2 separate regions of the Homo sapiens genome follow, and region 1 is linked to region 2. Evidence: promoter capture Hi-C in 16 types of primary human blood cells and fetal thymus (Javierre and others, 2016). All regions are on one chromosome and are shown on one strand. Each heading gives the region's core, a stretch centred on a gene start or on the middle of the fragment in contact. The rest is flanking DNA. Distances are from core to core; before and after follow the strand shown.

Evidence for each region. Contacts are between HindIII fragments. The CHiCAGO score rates a contact against its expected background, and 5 or more counts as called.
Region 1: a contact is called between the fragment with the promoter of PABPN1L here and the fragment with the promoter of CPNE7 in region 2, in 1 of 17 cell types (erythroblasts). The highest score is 5.4, in erythroblasts.

The regions. Positions count from the first base shown.
Region 1 is chr16:88,865,410-88,872,538 of GRCh38, reverse strand. PABPN1L (PABPN1 like, cytoplasmic) reads left to right here and starts at 5,879. Exons shown (of 7, transcript NM_001080487.4): 1 at 5,879-6,187; 2 at 6,598-6,733; 3 at 6,909-6,976. The coding sequence starts at 5,933. RefSeq lists an enhancer at 1,172-1,311. The HindIII fragment of the contact is 14,417 bases long and covers 1-7,129 here.
Region 2 is chr16:89,571,025-89,577,642 of GRCh38, reverse strand. It overlaps CPNE7 (copine 7), which reads right to left and starts at 1,885. Exons shown (of 15, transcript NM_153636.3): 1 at 1,572-1,885; 2 at 1-104. The coding sequence starts at 1,745. RefSeq lists silencers at 2,422-2,491, 2,732-2,961, 3,422-3,679. The HindIII fragment of the contact is 46,566 bases long and covers 1-6,618 here.

The sequences.
Region 1 (7,129 bases), core at 4,630-7,129, 710 kb after region 2:
TCCCCATCCATCCCAGCCATGTGCATGCCGGCCCCTCCGTCCTCGTGCCGGCGCCACCCGGCCCCCAGTGACTGGTTCTTCTCTCTCATCACGTTTTCTTCTGCCCCATCTGTCCAGTATCCCAGAGATCACTTTCCCCACCCCCAGCCCCCGCCCTTCCCCCCCACCCACCCCTCCACCCCCACGCGCCCCACATGCGTGTCCTCTGTGTGTCCTCTGGCCACCCACACAGCCGTCCCTCCATCCCACCCCACCCTCTCCACCCACGGACCCCAGAGTGGCACCAGCTGCCCCCCGTCGTGTGCCAGTGACAAGGGTTGCTCCTGCCATGACCTCAGCTGTTGCCCTAAGGGAACCTGTTGGTGGGCGGCAGCCTCTTCCATACCCAGCGCAGTCCAGGACTGCTCCAGACACCTGCAGGGGCAGATAAAATTCTGCTGCAGGTGCTGTGAGCAGGTGGGACCAGTACCTCGCAACAGCTCTGGCCAGTTGGGGCCACCTGGAGCTCCAGGTGGGTGGCCGGGGCCAGGAGCACACACTGGGTGGCGGCCCACACACCTGCCCAGGGTCCCCGACCAGGGCGCCAGGGTGAGCACATTCCCTGGCAGGGCCGCGACGCTGCAGGGCCGCCCTCTCCCACTCCTTGTTTCCAGGGGTCAATGCCTGGAGGGGGTGTCCCCAGGAGAGGAGGGTGACCCCATGCAGCCTCCCCGAGACCCCAGCACTCTTGGAGCCCCACTCCTCGGGGTGTACTCACAGGTGCCAGGCTCCCATTCCCTTTCCTGGGATCCCAGATGGCTCAGAGTTGAGTCCTTACGGCCTGAGACTGGGGACTTCTGGGAACAGACCTGCCTGGATAAATTCTGCCAGGAGTGATGGGTGCTCCCCAGGGTCCTCTGCAGCCTCCCTGCCCTGCATCCCCGAGCCCCGGGGCCTATTTCCTCCCACACTGCCCTGCAAGCTCCCACACTGAGGGGGTGCTCTCCAAAATGGGGCTGGGGCCCTGGATGATGAGCGTGCTGGCCGGAGAGGAAGACAGTGAGGAGAGGGGGGAGTCCATGGGGCTGGCCTCCCAGAGGCCCGCCAGCTCCCGTGCACACTTCAGAGATAAGGCCAGGGCGCTGCTGACAACCCCTGCTCCATTTTCCCGAAGTTCTAGGAAACTCCATTTTGGACACTTTCTGTTCTTTATGTTTCAATCCAGCCAAGCCCCGGAGTAGCTTCCCAAAGACCCAGAGGAACGGGAACTCAGCGTCAGTACTCAGAGTGAAACCTGCTTTTGAAATACGTCAATGACGGCAACAGGCCTCCCTTGTCCCCACCTGGCTGGGGTGGGGAGCCCCGCCAGGCCAGCTGTCAGCTCCCCAACCCCATCTGCCAGGGCCGAGGGGGTCGGGCCGGTGAGGACCAGGCGGGGGCACAGCCATGTGCAGCCTGGTGGGGAGGGGACTTACTCTCTACTTTCTCCTCCTCTTTTTTTTGACTCTCCCAGAGGAGTTGAGTTGTTTTCTGTAGTTGTGAGAAGCCCATGCCCTGGGTCTGCAGGCTGTGCAGGGCTGCGAGGTGGCCCTCGCCGCTCCGTCTGACGTACTATGGGTTTGGCCTGTAGATGCTGTGAGATGCAATAGTCGGGTTAGCGCCGTGTCCGTGTAATAAAGCGAACGTTCGCTGTCGCCTGGCTGTTCCTCTCCTTGGGTCCCAGGAGGCTTCGGCTGAGCCTCGTCTCACCCGTGAATTCACTAATTACCTGCTGGGGCTCCTCCGTGCCTGGTAGGGCGGGGCCTCCCCATGCACCACGCACACTGCAGGGACAAACAGGCCAGTGTGTGACGTGGGGCTGGGGCGACGGGGAAGAGGCAGGGCGGGAGCACGACGGGGAAGAGGCAGGGCGGGAGCACACAGGCAGGGAGGAGCAGCAGCCCCAGCCACGAGGGTCCCTGCAGGGCTGGCAACGGCTGAGCCTGCAAAGGGGACTTTGGGGGGGTCCCAACAACTTTACACCCGGGAGATGGTCCTGAGGATTCCAAGACTGGAGCCCCTGCCTGAGCAGCCCCACCTCAGACAGTGCTGGGGCTGGGGCCATGACACCTCCGACCCCGATGGGGGACACAGGGGACCTCAGGGGACACAGACAACACTGAGGGGAGGCCAGGCACGGTGGCTCACGCCTGTCATCCCGGCACTTTGGGAGGCCGAGGCGGGTGGATTGCCTGAGGTCAGGAGTTCAAGACCAGCCTGGCCAACATGGTGAAACCCCATCTCTTCTAAAAATACAAAAAATTAGCTGGGTGTGGTGGCGGGTGCCTGTAATCTCAGCTACTTGGGAGGCTGAGGCAGGAGAATCCCTTGAACTCAGGAGGTGGAGGTTGCAGTGAGCCGAGATCGTGCCACTGCACTCCAGTCTGGGCAACAGAGTGAGACTCCATCTCAAAAAAAAAAAAGAAATGAAAACTGAGGGGACACAGGGGACCTGAGGGTGGACAGCACAGGAAGGGACGGCTTGCCCCTCTCAGCCACCCCCATGGGGCCCTGGTGTTGGGTCACACACGGATCCTGTCTGGAATAGGAGTTGTCCTGGGCGCTGGGGCCCCAGGGGCCAGGCTGCCATGAATCCTCAGGCCCGGCTCTGGAACAGGGTGTATTTGAAGAGTGTCACTGGAAAGGCCAGGGTCGGAGCCGTCTGTCCCCTGCCAGGCAGCTGGCAGGAGCCCTGGCCGGGCCTTGTGTGTCAGCAATCTCAGACAGGGTGAGGATGACAAGGTTTTCCATGGCCGGGGCCCGAGCTCAGAGGGGCATGCGTCAGGGCCTGGGCCGAGTCCAGCAGACTCTGGTCTTGGATGGAACTGGTTGCAATCCTGCCTCTGACAGGGAGGTGGAGGCACGGGTGCTGGCAGACCCTCCAACACACAGGCACAGACACACGGGGCAGGGGGCTCCATCCCAACAGGAGGATCCCAGGCTGAGGCCGCACTCCACCCAGCGTACCTGTCCTCGGTGCAGATGTGGGCGCTGCCCCTGAGGAGCTTTGGTTTCTAAGGGGAGAGCTGGCCAAGTCATCAACACTGGACGGACAGCAGGAAAGGCGTGAGGACAGCGGCTCTCGAGGGAGGAGGAGCAGCCCGGCAGCCCTCCCGGAAACAGTGGCACCGTGTTCGCAGGGGGAACAGCGTCCAGGGACCACGCACACGTAAGTGTGTGGCTGTGCGGAGCCAGGGAGAGGGGAAGGGGCGTCCAGGGCCATAGCCAGGTTCCAGACAAGGCCCATTCCTCCCCGACCTCATGAGCCTGCCCCAGAAAATCCTCTGGGTGGTGAACAGATGGGGTGACAGCATGGTCTTCAGTCAGCCTCCTGGAGGTGGGAAAAGAAAACAGAATTTCGGGACCTAAAACGCACTAAGCCAAAGGGAAAAGTCAAGCTGGGAGCCGAATCACACACACCTGCCTCCCATTTTCTTCCTAATTGGACAGCCACGAAGATGAAGAAGCCTGTGCCTCCTCGCATCGCGCTTACAGGGAAATTCCTTGTGGGTCCCAAGATCTTGGCTCTGAAACAGTTCTGCTGGATCCCACCCAGATAGTGTGATCTAGCAGCTTATCTTCCCAGGTATGGGACAAAGGACAGAGCTAACGTTACCCTCCGCTCACCGGAGGCGAATGCGAACCTGCCAGCTTCCTATTCCCTGTGGCAGTTTTATCTTCTGTGGAAACGCAGAGTCGCTGAGCGTGGGGCTACGTAATTCTCTTCTCTACCCCCACCTTCCACATTTCAAAATGTGCATTTGGTGACTGCCAATCAGAGATTCAAAGGAACGCTACCACTTGCCTTTTATCCGCCCTCCCTTTTCTTTCCTTCCTGTGTTCCCCTCCTGCCCGCTCTTTCCCTTTAAGTATAAAAGTCTCCAAACCCTCTTTGGGTTTTTTTGTTTTTGTTTTTTGAGACAGTCTCACTCCGTCGCCCAGGCCGGAGTGCAGTGGCGCGATCTCGGCTCACTGCAACCTCTGCCTCCCGGGTTCAAGTGATTCTCCTGCCTCAGCCTCCCAAGTATCTGGGATTACAGGCGCCCGCCACCATGCCTGGCTAATTGTTTTTGTATTTTTAGTAGAGACAGGGTTTCACCATGTTGGCCAGGCTGGTTTTGAACTCCTGACCTTAAGTGATCCGCTCACCTCGGCCTCCCAGACTGCTGGGATTATAGGCGTGAGCCACCATGCCCGGCCTCCAAACCCTCTTTGGAAAAAGCAGAGCACAGATGTTGCCTGTGGCTTCGTGTTTCTTTTTCCTGGGTGCACCCTTAACCTTGGCAAGATACACCTCTAAACTGATTGATTGAGACCCATCTCAGACACCTTCTGGCTTTTACAGAGGTGAGAACAGACTGGGTGCAGGAGCCTGGGTTCCCAGGCTGTGGCAGCCTCCATGTCCACCTGCTCCCCGAGCCCCCAGCCCAAGATGGAGGAAGGGCCGCCCTGCGTGGGTGGTGCATGGTGCAGCAGTGCAGCTCCAGCCTAGGCCACGCCCTGTCTCTCTCTCCTCCCCCAGTCCCAAATTCCCAGGAATCCCAGCCCCACTGGCTAAACACCGGGGTGCAGTCACAGAGAGGATGGCCTCGGCCTGGGGGTAGGAGCTGTGCAGGGGGCCCCGTCTCCCACCACCAATGGCAGGGGTAAGAGCCATGCATGACCCCCTGGCCCCGAGTCCTTCACAGAGTGGGTGGGAGACGGCAGCACTGGAGATGAAGGCCAGAGCAGACTCCAGCAGCCGCGGTGGCAGGTGCAGAGGGAGGCGCAAGGGCGGACACGGGTCACCTCCTGCTGCAACCCTGCATGGGTGAAGCCAGGTGCAGACACCACCGGATGCCCACTGAATTCCGCCACAGTAACTCACGCCGTCACTCCCCACGGAGACCCCGCCCCACAATAACTCACGCCGTCACTCCCCACGGAGCCCCCGCCCCACAGCAGAATAATTCTGGCCTCATGGAAGTGGCTCCCACCTAAAAGATGACCCAGACCAGGTGCGGTGCTCACGCCTGTAATCCCAGCACTTCGGGAGGCCGAGTCGGGCGGATCACCTGAGGTCAGGAGTTCGAGACCAGCCTGGGCAACATGGTGAAACCCTGTCTCTACTAAAAAGACAAAAAAAATTAGCTGGGCATGGTGGCAGGTGCCTGTAATCCCAGCTACTCAGGAGGCTGAGGCAGGAGAATCACCCGAACCTGGGAGGCAAAGGTTGCCGTGAGCCGAGATCGCGCCACCGCACTCCAGACTTGGCAACAAAGCAAGACTCCTGCCTAAAAAAAAAAGAAAAAAAAAAAAAAGGCCCAGAATAAGGGTTAGGGAGGCAAGGGTCCCTGGGGACTCCATGGGGGTCAGGATGCAGAGACAGCTGTTGCTGCCCCTCCTCTGGGCCCAGGACCCCGCCCCAACCTGCCTCGGCCCTCTCATCCCATGCACCTGCTCTCGGTCTCTGCTCAGGCCCTGCCTCTCCTGGTCGGAAGCCACCTCTCCAGCCTGCTTGGTCCCTGGTACTAGAAGAAACCACTCCCGTGTTCCCACTTAGATCGAGTGTTCATGCAGTGTGGCGTTCGTGCCGTGTGGATGCTGCTGAGGTGTGAACCCTGTCACAGACCAAGGCTCCAGTGAGCCACAGCGTGGCCAGGCGGAAGCAGAAGAGACCGGTGACCCCCACTCAACTCAGCCTCTCCTTCCTCCAGGGAGAGTGTCCTGGAGGTACCTGTCCGAGTGACAGGGAAGGGGCGGGGCCGGGAGCCAAGGCTGGAAGCTCAGCCCCACTCAGCCTTTGCAAATGCTCTAGTGGGAGCAGCTGGCCTCAGGGGAGGGCTTAAAACTCCAGGAGAGCCTGGGCAGGTGCGGACGCGAGGGGAGTGGAGGGGAGGCCTCGCCTGGCCCACCTTCCTCCTGCCCCTCTACCATGTGGCCCTTCCCGAGCCGCTCTCTCTTCCCACCCCCGACTCAGGCCTGGCTCCAGACGGTCTCCTCAGACCCTGAGGCCCAGGGCTGGGGGGCCTGGAACGAGACCAAGGAGATTCTGGGGCCAGAGGGTGGGGAAGGGAAGGAGGAGAAAGAGGAGGAAGAGGATGCAGAGGAAGACCAGGATGGGGATGCAGGCTTTCTGCTGTCTCTGCTGGAGCAAGAGAACCTGGCTGAGTGCCCATTGCCTGACCAGGTAACAGCTGTGTGGAGGCCCTGGGGATCTCAGGGGACCTGGGGCACAGGGGCTGGTGGAGACACGGGGTCTGGGTGACGGATGGCTGCAGCTGACTTAGGAGGGGAGAGGGCCATTGCCCACCTGCCTGGACGAAGGTGGCAAGGAGACCCCCCGCCCCCAGCCACACAGACTGCAGGGTCAAGGTGGCCTCTCTCGCCTGGGGAAGGGCCCTTGAGGTGCGGTTTCGGGGGCTTCTCTGCAGGGGCGAGTTCATCCCCAGCCAGCTGCCCCAGGAAGGAGTGTCCCTGTCCAGAGAAGGGCTGCCCCTTGGGGCTGTGACCCTCTGCTGGAGCTGGCAGGCCACACACCCACCTTCCTTGAGCAGAGCCTGCAGGCTGCCTGCCCGGCTCAGGGCCGTGTGTCGGCAGGAGCTGGAGGCCATCAAGATGAAGGTGTGTGCCATGGAGCAGGCCGAGGGGACGCCACGGCCTCCAGGAGTGCAGCAACAGGCCGAGGAAGAGGAGGGCACCGCGGCCGGGCAGCTGCTGAGCCCTGAGACCGTGGGTAGGAACCAAGGGCACAGGCCGCCCCCCACTGAGCAAGGGTCCCACAGTTTCCATTAAGGTTGGGCCTGGCAGGCTCCAAGGTGTCACCTCCCCTATAAGCCTGGGCGACCTTCCCCGTGAGAGGAGTGAGGAAGGAACCAAGGGCCTGCGGGCCTGAGCTGTGTTCTCCGCAGGCTGCCCCCTCTCTGGGACCCCCGAGGAGAAGGTGGAGGCTGACCACAGATCCGTCTACGTGGGCAACGTGAGTGGTGGGCGGGGTGAAGGGGCAGGCAGCGAATGGGGCCCCATCTCTACCAGAGGGTCTGGCGCCCGGCCATGGGCCAGGCAGCCTTGCTGGGAAGGGGGTCTGACCCTGGGGGCAGCCCCGTCACCTTGAGGAAACACTGGCCTGGGC
Region 2 (6,618 bases), core at 636-3,135:
ACCTCAAAGCGCAGCCTCTGCACCTCCTCGAAGTAGTAGTCCACCGTGAAGACCTTGGAGAACACGGGATGCAGGCTGCTCCGGACCACCTCGGTTCTGCCCACCTGCAAGTGCACCTGTGAGCCGACCCCACTCCAGAGGCTTCCACCCCGGGCTCCAGACCTCCATCTCCCCTCTGCCGCTCACCCACGCCCAGGTACCTCAGGAGGACTCATACCCTGGGAAGACCTCCTGCCTGCTCTCTGTCCATGGGACCACAATCCCGAGGGCCACCCTGGGGGTCACCCCTGGCCACCACTGTCTGCTCCACCCTCAGATCACAGATGGGGAAAGTGAGGCTCACAGAGGACGAGAATGACACGCTGAGTCGGGGGCGAGATCAGATTCACACCCTGGGCTGGGCAGCCCTAAAGTGCAGGCCGCTCCCCAGCACCAGCTGAGTGGGGAGGGGGCGTAGGGTACAGGGGGGCCCTCCCTCCTGGCTGGGGTACCATGGGCTCACCAGCCTCTCCCATCCCATGCAGTTCCCTGGTCCAACTGCCCCGTAAGGACAAGACCCAGCTGGGCCAGTAGGCTACTCATTTCAGAATCCTGAAAAATCCTGCACCTCAAACCAAGGGCAAACATGGGCCACCCGTACAGCTCACGCTCTGAGGGTGCGGGCACGAGGCCTCCGTGGGGATGGTGGGCTCGGGATGTGAAGGGTGGGCTCAGGCTGTGAGGGGCGGGCACGGGGCCTCCGGGGGCAGCCGGAACCCTGGGGACAGGCGGTGAGGGCGGGGCAGGCCCTTCACCCTCAAGGTGGATGACCGGAGACGCCACCGGGTGACCGCGTCCCTTCCACCGCCCGAGCAGCCGCCCGGGCCCGCGCTGGAGCCTGGAGAGACCCCTGCGCCGGGGAAAAGCGCTGGCGCCCCGCGCGGACTGGGGTTCGAGTTCCGGCTCCTCCGCCCGCTGCGGCTTCGCGCCATGCGTTTCTCGCCCTTTCGAGGTGAAGCCACGCGTTTCACGCGAGATGGTGACCGAGGAAGCGCCCGTCTGGCGCCGGCCCCGTGCCCCTTCGGACCCCAACCGCGATCACAGCGGGTTCGCTTGAGACCCACGTTGGAGCGGGAGCCCCGGACGCCTGGAGGTCCGCACCCCAGCGCGCGCTCCCTCGCCGGCCTGCTCCCGCCCAGCCTCCCGCCCCCCGTCGGCCGGCGCCCCTCACCCCTCAATCTCCTTGCGCCTCTTGGTCGAGCCCCCTGCCCGCGCCTCATGCCTGGGCGCTTCACTCTGGCCCGGGGCCCCCTCCCCGAACCCTGGGCCGCACCCCTCACTGCGGGGCACCCCCCTCTCTCCTCCGAACCCCGCTCGCCGCCACCTCCTCCAGCCCAGCCTCTCCCCACAGCTCTGGACACCCCACCCCCAGACCTGGTAACCCCCAACCCTGACCCCGAGCTGAGCCCCAGCTCCGGGGGGCCCCGCCTTGCGCCCCACTGGCCTCAGCGCGCCCGCTCTGGTCTCCGCATCCCCAGCTCGGCGCCAGCCCCGGCCCGGTGGCCTCTCGGCCTCCCACGCCCCGGCCCTACCTGCACCCACTGGCCCTGCGCCTGCTGCAGCAACGCCACGCTGGGGTCGGACTTGGTGAGCGGGTCGCGGTCCAGCAGGTGCCGGCAGCTGAGCCGCAGCTCCACCTTCGAGGCGCAGGGCGCGGGCAAACCCCCGGGGGTTGCCGCCGCCCCGCGCTCCGAGCCCGCGCTCATGCTCCCGGCGTTCGGGGGCCCGGCTGGGCGCACTGAGGGGCCGCTGCCCGCGAGTCGGCGCCGCCGCGGCGCCCGGGAAATGGTGGCCGGCCCAGGCGTGGCCGCGCTTCCCTGAACGCCTGCCGGGCGCGGGCGCACGTGGCTCGGGCGGCCGCCGCGCGGGGACTGCAGGGGGTGGGGCGCGGCCGGGGGGCGGGGCCGGGGAGGGGCGCGGCGGGAAATGAGGGCAGGGGGCAGAGGCAGGGGTGCCCCTCGGAGATGCCCGGGAGGAGACAGCTTCTAATTCCCCGGGGACCCCCCCCCCAACTGATAGCTTTGGGGTCAGGTCGGGCGCGCCCTCCCCGGCTGTGCGCATCCCCGGCCCAGGGACCGGCTCCGGGCTGGAGGCTCCGAGCTGCGCGGGGCCTGAGCCCGGGTTCGGACCCAGGCAGACACTAGGGGAGGCAAAAGGGGGACCCCAGCTTGGCACCAGATCCCCGCGCCCTTCCCGGATCTCTAGGATCCCATTTCCAGGCTCCGCTGGTTTCGGGTACTCGCCACCTCCATCAACAAGCATTTAGTGGGCGCCTGTTGTGTGCAGGCGCCGCGCTCGTCTGGGGCTGGAAGGACCGTCCCGGGGGGCCGAGGGCTGAATCGCGGTCTGATTCCGAGGGGTCCGCGGGGCACGGTCCACACCAGTCCCCCGAGGCCGGGGCGGGGCGGGGCAGGCCTGGGTTCCGTGGGGGGTGGGCCCGCTCCGCCCTGAACTCACTCCCCCACCTTCCCCATCACCGGTCCCGGGGGAGGGAGCAGCGGAAGAGGAGGCGTCGGCGGGGACAGAAACCACCTCGCAGTCCACTCTTTTTGCCGATTTCTGCCTAAAAATAGGGCACGGACCTCGCCAAAAGCCACGGGGGTGGGGGGCGAGGGTGAGGGAGACATTAAGACTGAAGAGGCGGGAAGACCGGGCGCCTCCGCTCAGCCTCGGCGATCAGGACTCTAGAAGAAGACCCTGCGGTCAGAGGGGACCGCCGCCGACAGGGCGAGGAGGCTCAGGGCCCCGCCGGCGGGAGGCAGCACAGGCAGCCTCGGCCTGGGAGGAGGAACGCGGCCAGCGGCGTCCCCTCGCGGTCGGACGGCGGGATGGCGCCGGGCGCGGCTGCAGGGCGGGGAGGCCCCACGGGGCTGGCAGGGCCGGGAGAGGCCATGGAGACCGGCTCCTGCCTTCCCGGGAGGTTGGCTAAAGAGGCGAGGAACAGGTCAGGGCGCAGCGAGGCCTGCAGGGCCCCATCTGCTGTCTCCCCGGCCTCTGCGCCTCCTCCCTGAAGCCCGCAGTGGGCAGAGGCCAGTCCCGCTCTCTAGGGACCAGTCTGGGCCTTCCCGGCCCTGTGTCCTCCTCAGCCCAGCCTTCCAGGCTGCCGGGAGGCCACATCCTCGGTCCCCAACCACTTCCATGGGAAAAGGATGCGAAATTCAGGCAAAGGGTGCGGGCGCCCAGGCAGCTCCTGCAGGCCGTGCCTCCCGCTCGGTTCCAGCAGCCCTGGGACAGTTTTCCCCAGACCAAGCTCCGCTTCCTGCCTTGACCTCACCCGAAAGCTCCTCACCACCGCCCTGAGGTTTGCTCGTCTGCAGTGTGGCGTGAGGCCTGAGGTCCACCAGGCTGTCTGAGGGGTACCCGGCTTAAACCTGGAACACCCCAGTTCAGCCCTTGGCTGTCACATAGCGGCACCCTGGCAAAATAACAGATGGCTTCCAAGCAAAGGACGCAGGGAGCCAAGAAAGATCACAGAGTTTGGGAATTTGAGTCTCTGAAGCCCAGGGCGATTTGGGATCTCCAGCCACAGCCCTCGGCCGGCTTGCTGTCTCCTGACTGACAGCCCTGACTGCAGCCTGCTCTAATGGAGAGAAACCACAGAAGGAAAAGCCGATTCCCCTGTGGCACTGGTGTCTGGACGCTGCCTGCCCCTGCTCAGGGATCAGCCCGCAGTAGGCCCAGGTACAATGGAAGGACCCCGCAGGCCATGTGGAGCCATCTTTCCAAGGCTCCCCCTCCCAGCTTTCCCTGCAGGGCCAGACACAGGAAATGAGATCCACACACATACACGCAGGAATAATAACCGTGTTCCTTGTTGAAATATTAGACAATGCAGATAGGGAGTAAAAACAAATTTCCAGACCCCAAAGCAGCCCATCACCTCCCCACATCTAACCCTCCAGGTTTTTTTTTTTATGTGCAAATTTCTTTTAATTGTCAAAAAAAAAAAAAAGGTGCCTAACTCTCAGAGCCCTTCCCACACTTGAGAGGACTCTTCAGTATCTGCACGCCAGGCTCATCACGCGGGCCAGGCCCGGGACCCCACGCCAGGCTCATCACGCGGCCCAGGCCCGGGACCCTGCCTGGCACGGTTGGAGCACCATAGGTGTTGGTGCAGATGGTTTCTGTTCTGTAACCTGCTTTTTTCTTTCTTATTGACAATATTGCATTCAATGGTTAGCCTGGATCCCCTCATCACTGGGTTACCTATGAGACCCTCTGATTAGTGCCGACCCCCACGGCTATCCAGAGGCTTACACATGATCAATTTTAGGAGCAGCAATGACATATCTGTGCCCAAGTGCCCTGTGTGGCTTCCTGGCATCCAGGACTCAGATACTTTTCAGGCCCAAGTGCCTCTGCCTCAGCCTCTCCCACCACCCGACCCCTACCTACCCTGCAAAGCCCAGCCCAGTCTGAACCGCCACCCAACATCCCTCCCTGGGCTCCCGGCCCACACGTCCACAACATCAGTTCCACTGTCCAGGGCTGTGCTGCCCATGACCTCATCCACCCTGGACCAGGAGTCCACCGAGGCCTGAGTTAACACCAGTACAGGTCCCAACACAGAGTCTAAGACAACAAACTCCAGGCGGATGAATGAAGTGCGGATCAGCGAATGAAACGCAGCTCTGGTGGCTGCTCTCTGGTCCTGGATCTGCCTCGAGGGTGTCATCTCCATCAGTCACAGAGTCCCCATCTCCCATTTCAGTAACACTGGCCACGAGGCCAACCGGGAGCAGGGAAACCTGTCCAGGGCCTCCAGAGGTTCCCGGCAGACCCCAGGCCCACTGCTACTGCCTTGAGGCACATCCCCTGGAGCCAGTGCTCTCCCCCACACTCTGACAGCCCTTTGTCCCTGAGCCAGGTCCAGAGTCCATGGCCTCCTCCCTGGCCGTCCTGAGCACACAGCTGGTGTGCTCCAGTGGACCGGTCCGGGGCTCGGTCCCCACCCCTGAATGCAGGGTCCTCGAACCTGCCCTTCATGTGGAGAGATTGTCCCAGAAGTTGCCTCAAAACAAGAAATTGCAGAGGGTGGGGGTTACTAACAGGATTGTTTAACAGGAAACAGCTCTCCACGTGTCCGGATGGGTGCTGCTTTTTTTAATCTGGTTGCAAACCTACCCTCTTCTTTTCTTTCCTCCTAAAGAAAGGTTATTTTATCTTAGAACATCTGCAACCTGTCTGGATCAGATTGTCTTCCTGCAGGATCTGATGCTGATCTTATTTGAGAAATCAACCATGCCCAGAGGCGGCCACGCCGGCTGTTGGCTGAGACAACACACCTGGCCAGTCTCAGTTCCTCGCTGACCTTGTTACAGCCTCAGAGACCTGGGGACTGATTAGGGGGACTTTCTCCTCCACCACACTCAGCACATGCAGGCACGCACGAGCACACGCCACACACGTGTGCCAAATACCGCAGACACGTGCACGTACTCATGGAGAGACAGCCCACACGCAGACACGCCAGGCACCCAAGACACACAAGCGCAGACACAGGCCACCCCAGGGCAACATATGTTCCAACCAGGGGGTCCCCTTCCTCCACTTCCTTCCCCCAACACCGTCTTCTGGGTGTGGATGAGACCCCCTTCTTCGAGACTCCCTTCTCCTCCAGGCGCGTTCTCGCGTGCAGCCCCGGGCCGCCATCCCTCCTGCCCCTTGTCTGCATGCAGCCAGGAGCAGACCATCCCAGCCCCCAGCATCTCTGCCCAGCAGGAGACACCACTGCTGGCGGGAGACATGGCTCAGAGAGGGCGTTGTGGTGGCTGAGACCACACAGCAGGGGTGGAGCTGGAACCCAGAACCCAGCTCAGAAGCCAGCGCTCACACCTTCCTCGGCCCGTCCAGGCCCTGGGGTGGAACTGGAACCCCGCTCAGAACCCAGCCCTCACGCCTTCCTTCGCCCGTCCAGCCCCCGGCGTGGCTTGATGGCTTTGCTGCCCTTGCCCAGAATGTTCCCAGCAGACCCTCAGGAGCACTTACTGTGGAGGGGCCCAGACTTCACAGCCCCTGTGCAGTGAGACCCAGGGGTCAGGGTCCCTGCCCAGGACTGCACGCTGGGGACACCGTCCGGGACTGGCTCTTCCTCACCCCCTTTGGCCCTCCTGAGCCAGGACCCCTCTGTGCTCAGACTCAGGCACCAGCCATCCCAGAGTCCCCAGGACTTGGGCTCCTGGTCCCACTGTCCCCACTCCTGGGTCCTCTCTTCTTTCTGACTGCCAAGCCTGCTGACCAGCAGTGGCCCTGGGCCCCTGGACCACCTCCCCGGCCCCCGGACCGCCTGTACCCACTCACCTCCTCCCGTCCCCGCTCACCTCCTCCCGTCCCCGCTCACCTCCTCCCGTGCCCCGCTCACCTCCTCCCGTGCCCCGCTCACCTCCTCCCGTGCCCGCTCACCTGCTCCCGTGCCCCGCTCACCTCCTCCCGTGCCCCGCTCACCTCCTCCCGTGCCCCTCACCTCCTCCCGTGCCCGCTCACCTCCTCCCGTCCCCGCTCACCTCCTCCCGTCCCCGCTCACCTCCTCCCGTGCCCCGCTCACCTCCTCCCGTGCCCCGCTCACCTCCTCCCGTCCCC